Linked DNA regions of Homo sapiens: regions 2, 3 and 4 are each linked to region 1. The links are contacts of gene promoters, found by promoter capture Hi-C in blood cells and fetal thymus (Javierre and others, 2016). All regions are on one chromosome and are shown on one strand. Each heading gives the region's core, a stretch centred on a gene start or on the middle of the fragment in contact. The rest is flanking DNA. Distances are from core to core; before and after follow the strand shown.

Region 1 (2,700 bases), core at 189-2,688:
GGGGCAGTGCATGGGGGGTGTCGGGGTGTCGGGGGGGGCAGTGCATGGGGGGTGGCGGGGTGGCGGGGGGGAAGTGCATGGGGGGGTGGCGGGGTGGCGGGGGGGGCAGTGCATGGGGTGGTGGCGGGGGGCAGTGCATGGAGGGGTGGCGGGGTGGCGGGGGGGCAGTGCATGGGGGGGTGGCGGGGGGCAGTGCATGGAGGGGTGGCGGGGTGGCGGGGGGGCAGTGCATGGAGGGGTGGCGGGGTGGCGGGGGGGGCAGTGCATGGGGGGGTGGCGGGGGGGGCAGTGCATGGGGGGGTGGCAGGGTGGCGGGGGGGGGCCGTGCATGGGGGTTGGGGTGGGAGGGGACTGAGCTCTGAGAAAGGACCCCAGTTCACTATGTCAAAAACGAAAAAAAGGCAAGGCGCAGTGGCTCACGCCTGTAATCCCGGCACTTTGGGAGGCCAAGGAGGGCAGATCACCTGAGGTCAGGAGTTTGAGACCAGCCTGACCAATATGGTGAAATCCTGTCTCTACTAAAAATGCAAAAAAAATTAGACGGGCATGGTGGCTACTGTTATCCCAGCTACATGGGAGGCTGAGGCAGGAGAATCGCTTGAACCCGGGAGGTGGAGATTGCAGTGAGCTGAGATTGCACCACTGCACTCCAGCCTGAGTGACAGAGTGAGACCCCGTCTTAAAAAACAAAACAAGGCCAGGCACGGTGGCTCATGCCTGTAATCCCAGCACTCTGGGAGGCTGAGGCAGGTGGATCACAAGGTCAGGAGATCGAGACCACCCTGGCTAACATGGTGAAACCCTGTCTCTACTAAAAATACAAAGAATTATCCGAGCATGGTGGTGGACGCCTGTGGTCCCAGCTACTCCGGAGGCTGAGGTGGGAGAATGGCGTGAACCCAGGAGGTGGAGCTTGCAGTGAGCCGAGATTGCGCCACTGCAGTCCGCAGTCCCGCCTGGGGCGACAGAGCGAGACTCCGTCTCAAAAAAAAAAAAAAAAAAAAAAAAAAAAAAGAAAAAAAAGAAAAAAGAAAAAAAGAAAAGAAAACGAAGAAAAACCACAAATAAATAAAAGTTGAGGTATGATGTATGCACAGCTGCATTCGCCCCTTTGAGGGCACAGTTGTGTGAGTTTAGACAAATGCAAATGTTCATGGAACCACTGCAAGTGCGACACAGCAGCTCTGGTGCCCACAAAGCTTCCTCGAGGTCCCTTGCGGTCAATCACTGCCCGCACCTCAGCCCTCAGAGCCACTGGGAAGCCCCCTGCCCTGTGGGCTCACCTGTCCTAGAACGTCGTATAAAAGGAGTCGCAGATCGCAGCCTTTTCCACCTGGCTTCTGTCCCTCTGCAGGGTGCACCTGGGATTCAGCCACCTTCGTTCCTTTTACTGCTGAGTGTCCATCACGTGCTGCTCATGCAGAAGTGCTCAAGTTCGCTGTAAACGTAGTTTTCATTTCTCCCGGGTGGAGACCTCCATAAGTAGGTAGGTTGGTGGAATGTTTCACTGCATGAGAGTCTGCCAGGAAGTTTTGCAGTGTGGTCCCGTCTTGTTCTTCCCGCAGAGGGTGATAGCTCTGCTGACTCCCAGCCCTCACAGGCTCTAGGGATTGAGCCTGTTTCTGTGGAACGCCTTCCATGGTCTGCGAGGTGCACAGAGGGGTCTCAAAAAGCTTCCAGGTTGCATCTTCCCATGGACTGATGCTGAGCGTGTTCTCATCTCCCATCCGGATGTTTTCTTTGGTGGAGTATCTTTTCAGATCTCTTGCCTTTTTATTTTTATTTGTTTATATATATATTTTGAGACGGAATTTTGCTCTTTCACTTAGGTTGGAGTGCAACGGCGCGATCTTGGCTCACTGCAACCTCCCCCCACCCACCTCACTTTGGGTTCAAGCGATTCTCCTGCCTCAGCCTCCCGAGTAGCTGGGACTACAGGCGCCCGCCACCATGCCCGGCTAATTTTTGTATTTTGAGAAGAGATAGGGTTTCACCATGTTGGCCAGGCTGGTCTCGAACTCCTGACCTCAGGTGATCCACCCGCCTCGGCCTCCCAAAATGCGAGGATCACAGGCGTGAGATGCCACACCTGGCCTCTTTTTATTTTTAATGGAGTGGCTTGTTTTCTTATTACTCAGTCTTGGGAGTTCCTCATGGATGCTGGATTTCAGTCTCGTCTCAGGTGTATGCGTTTTGTAGATGTTTTCTGTAGGGACCAGCCCCACAGGGTTGGTGAGTTTCTCCCTGTGTGCTGAGATGAGAGGGCATAGAAATAAGGACACAAGAAAAAGACATAAAAGAAAAGACAGCTGGGCCTGGGGACCACTACCACCAAGACGTGGAGACCGGTAGTGGCCCCGAATGTCTGGCTGTGCTGATATTTATTGGATACAAAGCAAAAGGGACAGGGTAAAGAGTGTGAGTCATCTCCAATGATAGGTAAGGTGACGTGAGTCACGTGTCCACCGGATGGGGGGCCCTTCCCTGTTTGGCAGCCAAGGCGGAGAGAGAGAGAGAGAGACAGCTTACATCATTATTTCTGCATATCAGAGACTTTTAGTACTTTCACTAATTGACTACTGCTATCTAGAAGGCAGAGCCAGGTGTACAGGATGGAACATGAAGGCGGACTACGAGCGTGACCACTGAAGCACAGCATCACAGGGAGACGGTTAGGCCTCTGGATAACTGCGGGCAGGT
Region 2 (2,826 bases), core at 56-2,555, 260 kb before region 1:
AGGTGGAGGTTGCAGTGAGCCAAGATCGCACCACTTGATCCTGACTTCAGGTGATCCACAAGCCTTGGCCTCCCAAAATGCTGGGATTACAGCCTGGGCGATAGTGCAAGACTCCCTCTCAAAAAACAAACAAACAAACAAACAAACAAACCAAGCCTGACCTGCATTGAGATCTCCAGGACGTCTGGGTCTGGCCACGCCTGGGACCACACAAGGTCCCGTGCAGCAGAGTGGCAACGTGGTTGGGTGAAGAGGCTGATGGGGCCTCCCACTGTGGCTGAGAGTGGGGTGTTGGTTGGCTGGGGCTCAGGGTGACCCCGCAGGGCCATCCCAGCCTGGCTGGCACCCAACGTGGGCTGGTGTAGAAGAAGGAACCTGGCCTCCAGGCTCCAGGCCCTGGCTTAGAGGGAGCGGGGAGTCTGGACTTCAGGCTGGATCCCTTCCTCTTCCTGGAGCGGGTGCTGGCCCCCAACCCGCTTGCGTCAGGGACAAAAGGACTCCTTCCCTTTCCAGCCTGGAAAGCCCCTCTGCTGCAGGCTGGAGGAAGGGACCCTGGGCCCAGCCTATAGTCAGCGGTGTCTATGGGCATGGATCTGGACGGGGAAAAGGACAAAGCAGCCTCCATCCACAGTTCATTCCGGGACCAGGCCCTTGCAGGCACGCGCTGGGCTCCTGTGGGAAGACACTAAGGGCCCCAGGACAGACCTCCTCTCCGGGCATCTGGGTTCCTAGATGGCAGAGGTGGCAGAGTGGGGTGGGATGGCCCAATTGGGAGCTTTAGCTTCCGGCAAAGAGCTGAGCACAGTACATCTTCAATGTGTAAGATTCTCCTGGGAGACCAGGGCCCAGCTGGTGGTGAGCTGGGGGAAGTGGGTGATACTGCCGTGGGAGGAGCCACCTGGCCCTCTGGGGAAGTGCACTCGCTGTCTGCAGCGCCCAGGCCTGGGTAGCTGGGTGGGGGCTGGGGGGCCATCTGTGCTCAGGGTGCCTGCACCTGGGCCTTCTCTGCCCTGGGCCAAGCCTGCCCGAGCCTCTCTGTCCTCTGCCTGCCCAGCTGGACATCTCTGGGCCTCTCTGGAGACCAGTGGGGTGGGCTGTGGGGGCGTCATATTGCCCTGGCTTGGCATCCCTCTTGTGGCTGTACCCCTCCCAGCAGCCCCAGGACTAGCAAGTCCCCGAGATGGGGGTGGGGACAGTGGTTGATGCCAAAGGTTGTGGGGGCAGGGGCGGGGCAGGAGCAGGAAGGTCCCCTGAGTTCCCTCACCTTGGGCAGAGATAAAAGGAGCACAGTTCCAGGCGGGGCTGAGCTAGGGCGTAGCTGTGATTTCAGGGGCACCTCTGGCGGCTGCCGTGATTTGAGAATCTCGGGTCTCTTGGCTGACTGATCCTGGGAGACTGTGGATGAATAATGCTGGTGAGTGTCTGGCCCTCGGGGAGGCCCAAGCTGGGGACAGCTAGGCAACCTGGGAGGGGAGGACGGGGGTGGCGCTGAGTGGGGCATGTCGGTGTCCCTGAGCCCATGGGAGGGGAGGACGGGGGTGGCGCTGAGTGGGGCATGTGGGTGTCCCTGAGCCCATGGGAGGGGAGGACGGGGTTGGCGCTGAGTGGGGCGTGTGGATGTCCCTGAGCCCAAGTGACAGAGCCTCCCCTCCCTCGTGCTGCTGCAGGGCACGGCCCCACCCGGAGGCTGCGAGGCTTGGGGGTCCTGGCCGGGGTGGCTCTGCTCGCTGCCCTCTGGCTCCTGTGGCTGCTGGGGTCAGCCCCTCGGGGTACCCCGGCACCCCAGCCCACGATCACCATCCTTGTCTGGCACTGGCCCTTCACTGACCAGCCCCCAGAGCTGCCCAGCGACACCTGCACCCGCTACGGCATCGCCCGCTGCCACCTGAGTGCCAACCGAAGCCTGCTGGCCAGCGCCGACGCCGTGGTCTTCCACCACCGCGAGCTGCAGACCCGGCGGTCCCACCTGCCCCTGGCCCAGCGGCCGCGAGGGCAGCCCTGGGTGTGGGCCTCCATGGAGTCTCCTAGCCACACCCACGGCCTCAGCCACCTCCGAGGCATCTTCAACTGGGTGCTGAGCTACCGGCGCGACTCGGACATCTTTGTGCCCTATGGCCGCCTGGAGCCCCACTGGGGGCCCTCGCCACCGCTGCCAGCCAAGAGCAGGGTGGCCGCCTGGGTGGTCAGCAACTTCCAGGAGCGGCAGCTGCGTGCCAGGCTGTACCGGCAGCTGGCGCCTCATCTGCGGGTGGATGTCTTTGGCCGTGCCAATGGACGGCCACTGTGCGCCAGCTGCCTGGTGCCCACCGTGGCCCAGTACCGCTTCTACCTGTCCTTTGAGAACTCTCAGCACCGCGACTACATTACGGAGAAATTCTGGCGCAACGCACTGGTGGCTGGCACTGTGCCAGTGGTGCTGGGGCCCCCACGGGCCACCTATGAGGCCTTCGTGCCGGCTGACGCCTTCGTGCATGTGGATGACTTTGGCTCAGCCCGAGAGCTGGCGGCTTTCCTCACTGGCATGAATGAGAGCCGATACCAACGCTTCTTTGCCTGGCGTGACAGGCTCCGCGTGCGACTGTTCACCGACTGGCGGGAACGTTTCTGTGCCATCTGTGACCGCTACCCACACCTACCCCGCAGCCAAGTCTATGAGGACCTTGAGGGTTGGTTTCAGGCCTGAGATCCGCTGGCCGGGGGAGGTGGGTGTGGGTGGAAGGGCTGGGTGTCGAAATCAAACCACCAGGCATCCGGCCCTTACCGGCAAGCAGCGGGCTAACGGGAGGCTGGGCACAGAGGTCAGGAAGCAGGGGTGGGGGGTGCAGG
Region 3 (2,813 bases), core at 173-2,672, 450 kb before region 1:
CACTTGAGTGGCGCCTATGGCGCATGCGCAAACAAGGCAGGAACCGGCCGTGGAAATATTATTGCCCAGAAGCCCACGCGCTCCGGGGTTTCCCGAAAGACCCGGTTCGGATGTGACCAATACTCGGCTTGGGGTTCTCCAGCTCTGAATGGCGGGTCTGAAAAGGCCTGGCCTGGGGGGCGGGGCCTCGTGGCGGGGGCGGGATCTCATCCCCTACGGGGTGGGGTCTCGCTGAGGGGGCGGGGCCTGCGGCCTGGTGCTTCCTCGGGCGCACGCCGGGTCGGTGAGCAGAGTCTGCGGCGGAGCTGGGCTCCCGGCCCTCCCCAGGCCCAGGCTGCCTCAGTTGCCCCACCATCTTGCCAGGGCCCCGTAAGGACCCCTCCAGCAGCGCCCCTGTCACCCGCACACCTCTCCCTATTGCTCTTCTGAGTGACACTCGCCCGAGGCCCCACAGAGGGGCCAAGCCAGACCCTATGCGCAGGGCTGCTCCTCCAGCCTGTTTTGCCCACGCGAGCTCCCGCACCAGCGGCACCGTCCCCTCTGGGCTCAGCACTCTGCAGGCCCTGGGGCTCTGCCTAGAGCAGGTGCGGTCTGGCCAGTCCAGCGGAGAGAGGAGCTGAAGGAGGCCAGGATGTCCAGGGCCAGGTGCGGGGCCAGAGCTGGTCACAGCGTGGCAGCGGAGGCCCTCGAAGCCCTGGTCCCCTGCCTCACGGTGACCAGCAAGCCCGAGGGCTCCACAGGCAGAAGGCGGACCCAGGAGGGCAGGGAAGCCCCGGGTGAGGAAGCGGAGAGGCCCGGGCCTGCGCGCTGGAGTGCCAGGGGCCACCCTGTCCGGGCAGGTGCGGTCCTCAGGGCCGCCTCCACCCCGCACTGGGCTGCCAGCCTGTCCTTCGCGCACTCCCACCGGACCCGTCCGTCCACCGGCCTCGGCCTTCTGATCCGCTCCGCCCGCCCCGCTCTTGCCCCTTAGAGTCACAGCGATCTATCTGAGCTACGGCACCGGGCACAGGCGGAGCTGGAGGACTCGGGGCCTTCCCATGGGGCGGGGGGCCGGGGACGGGGGAAGGCACCGGTGGGCCCTGGAACCAGCTCCCCTGGGATCCTCCGCGCAGGTCCCCTCCCTCTCACTCCAGAGTCCTGAGGCCTCCTACTGTGAGGGAGGAGAACAGCCGGATTCTCCTCCTGAATCTGGGGGGGCGGGGGCTTGACCAGGACCCAGGATCAGCCTGGAGAGAACTGGGGGCGACGCGGGGGTCCTGCCCCCCACGCAGTCCGCGGGCGAGAGCGACGCCGGGAGCGGACCGAGGGGCGGCCGGGAGGCTGGCCCCGCCCCGCGGACCCCGCGCGGGTCCCCAGACGGGGGGTGGCGCTGCGGGCGCGGGCGGGCGCCGCGCGCACTGCGGTCCCCGCGCCTCCGCCGCAGAGCGCGCCACGCTCCGCACGCACCTGCCGCCGTCGCCGCCGTGCCGAAACCCGCGCCCCGCGCCCCACGCCCGCGCCCGCGCCCCTCGGTGCCGCCCGGGCCCCGCCATCGCCTGAGGTCGCTGCGGCCGCCGCCGGAGCCGCCGGAGCCCCCCGAGCTGCCGGGCCGAGGCGCGGGCGCCGCGTCCGGGCCTGCCTTTGAGACAACCTCTGCGGCGGCGGCGCGCGGCCGGGACGCCAGGCTGGGGCAGGTGAGCGCAGGGGGCGGGGGCCGGGGGCGGACTCAGCGCCCCTCCCCACGCGACGGGGGTCGGCCCTCGGGAAGGTGCGTCTGGCCTTGGAGGCGGGGACCGGGGAGGGGGTTGGGTTCTGAGGCCCGCGGAGGTCGGGATCCCACGGCTGAGGTCAGGGTCAGAGGTCGGGCGCCCGGTCCTTTGTGCAGGGCGAGGGCTAGGGTGGGGGTGGCCGGGGCACTGCCCTCATGCCGTCTCTCACCTGCAGCTCAGGCCTGGCCCAGGCCTCGCCTCTGCTCCTGCCGCGGAGCCTGCCGCCCCGGTCCTCCTGCAGCCAGCGCTTCGGCTAGCTGCCTTCCCTGGGCGCCCTGTCCTGGAGCCATGGGGCCCACCCAGCCCCTGCCTGCCCCGATGTCCCGGCCCGCGGCCTGCTGACCTCGGCTGCAGGGGGAGCCCCCCCCGCGCCCCCTCGCCAGCCTCAGCAGCCAGAGACCCTGGGTGAGACCCTGGGCCAGACCCCCAGCCCAGGGCAGCCTCCCACCCCTCCCTGCCCCCGCCTGCCTCCCCCTCCCCCACCCCTTCCTCCTCCTCCCAGGACTGGACCAGAGAAGCCACTGTGGCCACTGGGGGGGGCCCTGCACCCCCAACTCTCGCCGGCTGTCCCTAGGAGTCCACGGGCCGTCCGGGGCCCCCCCCAGGCCTGGCGGGACCAGGATGCTGCCCTGTCACCTGCCCCCCAGCCCCACACAACGCCCCCACCCACCCGAACATCCAGTCTGACTGGAGACAGCCGGATGCCCTCTGACCCCGGGCCCGAGGCGGGCAGTGGCTGGCCGGGCCTCCTCATGTCCTGCCTGAAGGGTCCCCATGTCATCCTCAAGATGGAGGCCATGAAGATTGTCCACCCTGAAAAGTTCCCTGAGCTACCGGCTGCCCCCTGCTTCCCGCCTGCTCCCCGGCCCACCCCAACTCTGGCACCCAAGCGTGCCTGGCCCTCAGACACAGAGATCATTGTCAACCAGGCCTGTGGGGGGGACATGCCTGCCTTGGAAGGGGCACCCCATACCCCGCCACTGCCACGGCGGCCCCGTAAGGGAAGCTCGGAGCTGGGCTTTCCCCGCGTGGCCCCAGAGGATGAGGTCATTGTGAATCAGTACG
Region 4 (2,700 bases), core at 201-2,700, 290 kb before region 1:
GGCCTGGGGCCTGGAGCTTAGCACCGGCAACACCCAGAGATTGCCTGCTGGAGCCCCGCCAGGCTGGGCTGTGAGGCTGAGGCAGCAGAGAGGCTTCCCAGGGTTCCCACCCCTCCCTTTGGGGTCCTGAGCTGGAAGAAAGATGCCTTTACTGGGCCTGTGGCGCCAGACCCTCAGCCCAGGCAGCAATCCCAGCACAATTGTCACTGCCCGTTCCAGAAGGCCGGGCATGGTCTGGACCCTGCCCCATGGGGCTGCCCTTTGGGCCCCAGCAGCCTGCACTCCCTGGTGGCCTTGCCTCGTGGCTCCCTGACGCTGTGTGGCTGGAATTATTGGGACAAGAATTCCCACTTTGCAGCAGGCGCAAAGGGGGTGGCCCCTGGCCGGGCTGGGATGCGGGGCCTGTGAGGCTGCAGAGCCGAAAGGCCAGCCATGTCGTGGGACGGAGGAGCAGGGCTTGCGTCTGGGGCCAGCTGCGCTTCGCCTGCCCCAGCCGTCCCCAGAAGCCTGTTGCTGACCCGCACCCCAAGCTTGGCCTGGGGACCCTCTTCCTTGCCTTTCAGGCCACGTAGAGGCCCCACCTGTTTCCGTCCTGGGGAAGCCTCCTCTGGCCTCCGCAGCCCAAGCCTCTGTTCCCCTCAGGCCGAGGGGGCAGCAGGCGCGGCTGAGGCCCTGGGCTGGGAGGTATGGACCTTTGGCCCGGTCTGTGCTGCTTCTCCTGTTTCTCGGCTCGGTGTGACCTGGGCCGTCCCTCCCCTTCCCCGTTCCTGCGTCCTCACCTTCACCTCAGTACAGGGCCCAGGTGAGGTGGATCTGACTGGGCCTCAAGGGTAGTTCTGGCCTGGGTCAGCTGCGTGTCTCTGGAGCTGACCTGCGCTGGCTCAGCGCCGCAGGCTGGCGGATCCTTGCTGGCCGGGAGGGCATCCCGCAGGCCAGCCTGGTCCTCACCAGCCCTGGGAGTTGGCGCTCAGGGCCCTGCTCCACAAACAGGTGCTGACCCTCGGCTTCCTCCTGAGTCCCCAGCCCGGGCCCCGCGTGGCTCCGCAGCCGACAGTGCCTCATTCCTGCAAGCGAGTCTGGCCTCCTTTCCCGGGCCCGGGAAAAGCGCGGCTCTCCAGCACAGGACCCTCCGAGCCAGCCTCGCCCGCCCACCCCCACGCCAGGTCTCCTGCCTCCACGGCCGGGGGATCCCCTTGCTGAGTGGGCGGGAAGGGGAAGGTGGGCCATAGCCGCGGGGCGCCCGGGCTCAGACCCGGGAGCCGGGGGGCGGTGCTGGTGACTCAGCCGCGCCCGCGTCTCTCACCTGCGCGGGCCGGACGGCGGAAGCTTGGGAGCGGAGGCGAAACCTGTCCGCCCGTGGGCGTGGCCGGTGATGGGCGGGCCCGCCCGGCCTCCCGCCCCTCGTCCCGCCCCGGGGCCCCTACCCCGCGGTCCCGCGGCCCCGCCCGCCTCCGCCTCCGGCTCCCCGCACTCTCCGGGTCCACGCATCGTCCTCCCGCGCGCCCGCCCGCCCATGGCCGGGAAGGTGCGGTCACTGCTGCCGCCGCTGCTGCTGGCCGCCGCGGGCCTCGCCGGCCTCCTACTGCTGTGCGTCCCCACCCGCGACGTCCGGGAGCCGCCCGCCCTCAAGGTGCGCGCCCGGGCACCCAGCGCACGTCTGGGGAGCAGCGGGCCGGGCTTGGAGCCGGGGAGGGGGTGCGGCTGGGAACCTGAGCAGGATCAGCCCGGGACCCCCACCGTGCTCTGCTCCTGGCGGGCTGGGTGGGGTCCCGGGTTCCGCGCTCTGCGCTCCCCGACCGGGTACGCGGAGGGGGCGGGGGGCGGTGGCGCTTCCAGGGCGACGCGGTGCTGAAGGAACAAGTCCCGGGAGTTCCGCGCCCGCCGCCGAGTCCGTCAACGCAGCCCAGGGGCTGTGTCCCCGCTCCCGGGATAGCCCAGCGATGCCCCCTGGGTGCTGCCGGACGCCCGCCCCCAGGCCTGTGCGGGCCCCCAGGGGCACTCCGGGCCACTTCTGCCCTGTGCCGCCGCCCCGGAGGGTGCGGTTAGAGCCACATCGACTGGGTATTCAGCCCAGATGGGGATCCACAAGCCCCAGGACCCAGGGCCCCCGCCAGGACACGAGAGTGGCCCAGAAAGACAGGAGGGCTTGACCGGAGCAGCCCTGGCCGGTCCTCAAAAGGTTGGAGCAGGCTAGCCTGGATCTCCACTCCAGCAGGCCCAGGGACCTCCTGGTCGGCCCCTTTAACCCTTTATTGGGCTTGTAGGGGGGTGGGGTGGAGAGCCAAGTCCCCCAGCCTGATGGGGAGTCAGAAGCAGGGAGCTCTGCGGCCCTGCAGGACGGCCATGTGGCGGTGCACGCGCTGACCTGTTGATGCTCTGGGCTCTGGGGAAGCCTTGGTCGGGATGGACTGGTGCGGCCCTCTCGGAGGCTGGAATTGGCGCCCGGGCCTGGGAGGCTGGTCCCCAGCTTTCCAGGTGGATCCAGGATGCTGGGGCAGGAGCTGGAAAAGGGCATTTACAAGCTCGTGCCACTCAGGTCTGCAGGAAGGCCCACCCAGCACCCCCAACAAGGCAGGGCCAGCCTCTCTCTCTGGCCCTGGCTTGGAGGCCTAGGGAGAGTGTCTTTAGAGCTGACCTGGCTCTGAGGCCCACGGCCAGCCTCGGTGGACCTTCTTCACCTGGGGCCCTGCCTCCTGCATC

The links. The method cuts DNA at HindIII sites, captures the fragments that hold promoters and counts their contacts. A CHiCAGO score of 5 or more calls a contact.
Region 2: the fragment with the promoter of FUT7 here is called in contact with a fragment that was not itself captured in region 1 in 10 of 17 cell types (endothelial precursors, activated CD4 T cells, naive CD4 T cells and 7 more); the score reaches 9.7 in endothelial precursors.
Region 3: the fragment with the promoter of RNF208 here is called in contact with a fragment that was not itself captured in region 1 in 2 of 17 cell types (endothelial precursors and naive CD8 T cells); the score reaches 6.3 in endothelial precursors.
Region 4: a contact is called between the fragment with the promoter of ENTPD2 here and a fragment that was not itself captured in region 1, in 1 of 17 cell types (non-activated CD4 T cells). The highest score is 5.5, in non-activated CD4 T cells.

The regions. Positions count from the first base shown.
Region 1 is chr9:136,766,804-136,769,503 of GRCh38, reverse strand. It overlaps LOC107987143 (a long non-coding RNA gene), which reads left to right. Exons shown (of 3, transcript XR_001746981.2): 2 at 1,355-1,743; 3 at 1,830-2,700. Among named protein-coding and RNA genes, the nearest start is that of LCN15, 3.6 kb to the right of the region's middle. The HindIII fragment of the contact is 474 bases long and covers 1,202-1,675 here.
Region 2 is chr9:137,030,567-137,033,392 of GRCh38, reverse strand. It overlaps FUT7 (fucosyltransferase 7), which reads left to right and starts at 1,305. Exons shown (of 2, transcript NM_004479.4): 1 at 1,305-1,414; 2 at 1,668-2,826. The coding sequence starts at 1,402. The coding sequence ends at 2,683. LINC02908 (long intergenic non-protein coding RNA 2908) reads right to left here. Exons shown (of 3, transcript NR_171031.1): 2 at 162-1,395. RefSeq lists an enhancer at 1,161-1,270. The HindIII fragment of the contact is 19,925 bases long and covers 1-2,826 here.
Region 3 is chr9:137,220,849-137,223,661 of GRCh38, reverse strand. It overlaps RNF208 (ring finger protein 208), which reads left to right and starts at 1,422. Exons shown (of 2, transcript NM_031297.7): 1 at 1,422-1,673; 2 at 1,924-2,813. The coding sequence starts at 2,450. RefSeq lists silencers at 170-519, 830-879, 1,820-1,869. The HindIII fragment of the contact is 9,789 bases long and covers 1-2,813 here.
Region 4 is chr9:137,052,811-137,055,510 of GRCh38, reverse strand. ENTPD2 (ectonucleoside triphosphate diphosphohydrolase 2) reads left to right here and starts at 1,450. Exons shown (of 9, transcript NM_203468.3): 1 at 1,450-1,630. The coding sequence starts at 1,514. It overlaps LOC105376327 (a long non-coding RNA gene), which reads right to left. Exons shown (of 2, transcript XR_930455.2): 1 at 2,636-2,700; 2 at 2,136-2,501. RefSeq lists silencers at 1,215-1,294, 1,395-1,464. The HindIII fragment of the contact is 4,509 bases long and covers 1,329-2,700 here.